Linked DNA regions of Homo sapiens: region 1 is linked to region 2. Evidence: promoter capture Hi-C in 16 types of primary human blood cells and fetal thymus (Javierre and others, 2016). All regions are on one chromosome and are shown on one strand. Each heading gives the region's core, a stretch centred on a gene start or on the middle of the fragment in contact. The rest is flanking DNA. Distances are from core to core; before and after follow the strand shown. Region 1 holds the start of NLRC3 (NLR family CARD domain containing 3). Region 2 holds the start of SRL (sarcalumenin).

Region 1 (2,820 bases), core at 298-2,797, 660 kb after region 2:
GGAGCCTCGGGCAGCCTTCTCGAGGGTCCATCGTGTCCTCCCAGCACCCAGCAGGTTCCTGGGTGCTCAGAAAGCATTGTTGGGAGGGAGGGAGAGGAAGGAGGGACAAAAGAAGGTAGGCAGGCAGGGGAATGTGCAGGAGCACTTCTGGTCTGCTGCCTCAGTTCCCTCCCCCCCATCACCCACACAGGCTCTGGGGAACCAGCTAACCCTCCTACCTCCCCTGAGCCACAAGCTGCTCTATGAGTCCAGACCCACTACTCTCCTGCTCTACAACCATTGCTGGCTCCCACTTGCTTGCTGAGGAAAATTCAGACCCCAGGACCCCTGTCCCTTGGCTCCCACCTTGTCACCTCCTTCCCTCAGTGGCCCCATGTTGCTTGCTCCCTGTCCCCAGCGGATGTCCCATACTTTATTGTAATTTTTCTCATGTGGCTTGCTCTGGGCCATGTCCTTCCCCCTCACGCCCTTCCCTGTCAGGGCAGGCCACCCACTGAGGTCCACTTCCAGGGGCCGAGTGCGATCTCCTGCCGCGGACGGCAACATTCTGCTGTTTCCTCTTAGGGTACAGGTGACCTGCCTCTGGGGAGCCCTTTGCTCACAGGAAGATGTTATGGGGCACAGCTGAGTCAGAGGTGCCTACTGGGTGACAGAGAGAAAAGAAAGCAAGAGGTGTTAAAAGAGGGAGCACAGTGGCTCACACCTGTTATCTCCGTGTTTTGGGAGGCCAAGGCAGGAGGATCACTTGAGCCCCAGGAGGTAGAGGCTACAGTGAGCCGAGATCACACCACTGCACTCCAGTCTGGGTGACAGAGCAAGATCCTGTCTCAAAAAATAAATAGGCTGGGCGCAGTGGCTCACGCCTGTAATCCCACCCCTTTGGGAAGCCAAGGTGGGTGGATCACCTGAGGTCAGGCGTTCAAGACCAGCCTGGCCAACATGGCAAAGCCCCTCCTCTGCTAAAAATACAAAAATTAGCGGGGCATGGTGGCGCATGCCCGTAATCCCAGCTACTCAGGAGGCTGAGGCAGGAGAATCTCTTGAACCTGGGAGGGGGAGGTTGCAGTGAGCCGAGATCGTGCCATTGCACTCCAGCCTGGGCAACAGAGCGAGACTCTGTCTCAAATAAATAAATTAAATAAATAAATAAGGAGAGCCACAGGGGTGGCCTGGAGGTGGCAGGGCACAGTCCAGTCCTGCTGGGGTCACCCTCTAGTTGCGTGACCTCAGGCTGCTCACTTGATTTCCTGACCACCCGCCTGAAAACAAGCATTTGTTGATGGCGGGGCAGCTTCCTTTGTGGCGGGATGGAGGTGATGTGTCAACAGCCTTGGCACCAGCCACTTTATCCTGAGCATGCCACCTGCAGGGACACTTAATCCCAGAGTCAAGACCCCCAGCATCGCCCCCGCACTTAACTTGCACGGGGGCGGTGACCAAGCCAGGGTGCCCCGGCTCCTCGATGTGTCTGCGAGGCTGTTGGCTGTTGAAATCAGACAGGAAGGAAGAATGAGGTGGAGCCCAGCACAGGAAGAGGTGAGGACCCGGAGCCACAGGGACAGCCGGTGGGCTCGGTGGGGCTGCAGAAGGTCGGGGCTGCACTGCTCTCGGCCCCCACACGGTTGGTTGGTTGGCGTGGTAAGTGCCCTGATCCCTGGTCCTGAGAACTCAGGCTGGCACAGGGATTCCCAGGGCATCTACCACCACGCAGCTGGAGCAGGGCTGAGCCCAGGAGCATGGAGATGGACGCCCCCAGGCCCCCCAGTCTTGCTGTCCCTGGAGCAGCATCGAGGCCCGGGAGGTAAGTTGGGTCCAGGTGACCTCAGTGCAGGGCAGGGGAGGGAGAAGGGATGCTGGCAGGAAGGACAGTGGCCTTAAGGCCTGAGCTACTCTGGGGAGGGGGACTGGGGAGACTCCACGAGACTCCAAGAAGCTGTCTCCTGGGGCAGGACTGGCTCATGCTGTAGAAAAAAGAGATGTGGCCAGGCACGGTGGCTCACGCCTGTAATCCCAACACTTTGGGAGGCCAAGGTGGGCGGATCACTTGAGGTCAGGACTTTGAGACTAGCCTGGCCAACATGGTGAAACCCCATCTCTACTAAAAATAAAAAATAAATTAGCCAGGCATGTTGGCAGACGCCTGTAATCCCACCCAGCTAGTCGGGAGGCTGAGGCAGGAGAACCGCTTGAACCCGGGAGGCGTAGGTTGCAGTGAGCCGAGATCGAGCCACTGCACTCAATCCTGGGTGACAAAGCGAGACTGTCTCCAAAACAAAACAAAACAAAACAAAAAAGAAAAGAAAAAACAGGTAACTAAGAATGGCCCAGGACAGGTCCCAGGGACAAAACCCAGCTCCCCCAGGTACCAGTGATGGCCCAGGAGAAGCAGGAAGCATCTTGAAGGTGCTGCGGGCAGGCAGTGGTGATGCTGAGCCACGGCCTGGGGAATCGGCAGACCTGGGCACCCTTCCTGGCACTGGGACCCCCCATGGGAGGCTACTTCTCTGGGCCTCAGCACCCCACCTGTAGATGGAGGTGACAGCACAGGAGGGGCGAGGTCATGAGGGGCAGGGAGGGTGCAGGCGCCGCCCCCAGGCGAGTGGGCAGCCCCAGGGCCTCTCCTGCCCACAGCCTTGGGTGAGACAAGGGTCGAGAGAGACGGCAACCGCAGAGGCCTTCTCGGAAGAAGTGCCACTGCCCTGGGCCAGCCTGGGTGTTGGCTGCAGGGTCTTCCCCTATGGCCAGGCTCCAGAGGCCCTGGTGTTTTTCTGGACCCCTCCCTGGAGGTGACCCTGAGCCTGGGGCTCACTGTTGGCCATC
Region 2 (2,711 bases), core at 137-2,636:
ATCGTGTCACTACTCCAGCCAGGGTGACAGAGACCCTGTCTCTTAAAAAAGATTAAAAAAAAAAAAAAAGTCAAGTGCCTACCAGATGCCTAATTCTTTTTTTTTTTTTTTTTTTTTTTGAGACAGAGTCTCGCTCTGTTGCCCAGGCTAGAGTCAGTGGTGCAATCTTGGCTCATGGCAACCTTCGCCTCCTGGGATCAAGTGATTCTCCTGCCTCAGCCTCCTGAGGAGCTGGGATTATAGGCACCCGCCACCACACCCAGTAATTTTTGTATTTTTAGTGGAGATGGGGTTTCACCATGTTGGCCAGGCTGGTCTCAATCTCCTGACCTCAGGTGATCCACCCGCCTCGGCCTCCCAAAGTGCTGGGATTACAGGTGTGAGCCACTGTGCCTGGCCCTGATTTAGTTCCTTTCCTCCAAGGCTGGCTTCTACCTCTTCCCCACACAGTGACACTGTACCCCGACCAGACAAGCAAGTGTCTGCTTTCCCTTGGCTTCTTACAACTGGCTCTCTGGGCCATCTACAAAAAATTTTAAAAAATTAGTACAGCATGGTGGCACTACTGTCCTAGCTACTTGGGAGGCTGAGTTGGGAGGATTGATTGAGCCTGGGAGGTCGAGTGCAGTGAGTGATGATTGTGCCACTGCAGTCCAGCCTGGGTGACAGAGCGAGATCCTCTATCAAAAACAAATAAACAAAAAAGCACTTTGCAGAGGTGACTGAATGTTCTGGAACCCCTGGGCCATTGGAAATGGATATCTGTTGCTCCATCCTCCAGTTTACACCGTAGCCTCAGCTTGTGTCTCAGTGTGCCCCTCTCCCTCTGGTCTGTGCTCTCTCTCTTCCAGAGGCTGGGAAGGTTGTTCCAGGGCTGCAGCCTTGGACCTCAGAGGTCACATGTTGCGGGTTTGCCGTAGCTGACCACTCTCTAGCATGTGGATCAGTGGCTGTTAAATAGGATTTCTTTTGCGTGGCCTTACAACTTCCTCCTTCCAGTGCAGGCGTGTCAAGGTCCTTAACCTGCCGAGACTTCAGGTCAAGTTATTGCAAGTTCTGGGAAGACTCAGCTTCCCAGCTCCACCGCCTGAGCCCAAGGGATGCTCCATTTTATGCCTGTCACCCACGCCCTGTGACCCATGTCATGTGATCCCAGGGCTGCAGGGGTTCGGGGGAAGAGAATCCAGCCACGGCCCTGCCTTCTGGGGCCTGGCAGCTGGGACAGCAGTGGCGCAGCCTGAGCCTCTGCACAGCCTTCTGGGGTCCGGGCTTCTTCCCCATCACACCCTCCTAGTTGCCCTGGTGACTGTGTGACCCCTCTCCCCCCTCCACCGCCTGCTGCCACGGCCGGCCGTATAAATAGAGGCGAGGAGCAGCTGGGCTCTCTTGGCAGTCACCATGAGGGCGCTGGTCCTGCTCGGCTGCCTCCTGGCCTCGCTCCTGTTCTCAGGACAAGCAGGTAGGGCCCCTCCCAGCATGACCCAGCCCAGACTGGTCCCCCACGCTTCCTCCAAGGTTTTCTGTCTACCATGGGTTGGGTAGGGGGTCGGGGCTGATGGCAAACCCTGGCTCTTGGCTGGTGTCTTCTTACCCTTCTCTTTTCCCCGGGCCTGGGGCCTCAGAGAAAGAGCTGGGTGCTGGAGAATAGCAGCACAGTTGCGGGGCCCTCAGGAAGGCCAGAGGAAGTGGGAACGGCAAACAGAGCTGAGCTGTGAGCCAGGGTCAGAGAGGAGTCTGGCCAGTAGATGTGGGAAAGAGGGCCCTCAAAGTCGAGACGGGGGAGCCTCTGAGACGGACAAAATAGCACAGTCTGGGAGCTGGAGGTCGTTGAGGTGACCCTCCCACCTGGTGGGATATAAGGCGGAGGCCCCACTCGGGTAAGAGAACTGGGTTTGCGTGGACAGAAGGGGATACAGTGGGCAAAGGTGGGGACCGTTTTGGGAGCAGTGAGATAGAATTGGAATTGGTTTGGGATAAGATCGGAAATAGAGTTGGCGGTTGGGCTGGAAACAGCATTGGATGCAATTCAGAAGAGGAACGGGGCCCGTTCTGGAGTAGAGCCTCTGCTCGGGGTGGGGGCTTCCATCAGAAAAGGGGCTTGGCTCTGTGTGCTGAGGCTTCCCTTTGACATCTCAGCACTTTGGGTAGCAGAGGTGGTGGCTTGGGTTGCAGCATGGGGGTTATCTATAGGCTATGGAGGAGATGCCAGATTGTTTTGCCACCTCTCTTGTTCCTAAGGTTCCTGAGGCCAGGTTCCCCGAGGGAATGCTTTTAGGGAGGTGCTCCGGGGATCCCCCTAGGATCCGGACTGCCCACCGAGTCTTTTCATGACTCGGCAGTCTTCCCCCAAGCTGGGCTCTGAGCCTAGGTCCGTACCTGGGACTGGAGAGGCCCAGAGTCCAGCCTCTCAGGTCTTTGAGGTTGAATAGGGGGTTGCAGGGGCACAGTCCCTGCAGGGAGAGCAGGCAGTGGGTGGGAACAAAAGCTATTTCTCGGGGACTCAAGATGTAAGGTGGGGGGCTCCAGCCACTGCATGTGCTGCTGGGCCCTGCCCTTGTCTGTCCTTGAGTTAATTTGGGCTCTGCAGGGCTGCAGCGGCTTGAGTGCTGAGTATTCCAGGCGGCTGTCAGGCGGCTAAGTATGGAAACAGCCGCGTAATTGGATCCGGAGCCCCAAGCCGCTGCCACCCTCTCCCTTCGTGGCCGCTCCTG

Evidence for each region. The method cuts DNA at HindIII sites, captures the fragments that hold promoters and counts their contacts. A CHiCAGO score of 5 or more calls a contact.
Region 1: the fragment with the promoter of NLRC3 here is called in contact with the fragment with the promoter of SRL in region 2 in 1 of 17 cell types (naive CD8 T cells); the score reaches 5.7 in naive CD8 T cells.

What each region holds. Positions count from the first base shown.
Region 1 is chr16:3,576,130-3,578,949 of GRCh38, reverse strand. NLRC3 (NLR family CARD domain containing 3) reads left to right here and starts at 1,547. Exons shown (of 20, transcript NM_178844.4): 1 at 1,547-1,801. LOC105371060 (a long non-coding RNA gene) reads right to left here and starts at 1,447. Exons shown (of 2, transcript XR_001752061.3): 1 at 1-1,447. RefSeq lists enhancers at 204-383, 414-463. The HindIII fragment of the contact is 15,514 bases long and covers 1-2,820 here.
Region 2 is chr16:4,240,755-4,243,465 of GRCh38, reverse strand. It overlaps SRL (sarcalumenin), which reads left to right and starts at 1,386. Exons shown (of 6, transcript NM_001098814.2): 1 at 1,386-1,459. The coding sequence starts at 1,399. The HindIII fragment of the contact is 10,843 bases long and covers 1-2,711 here.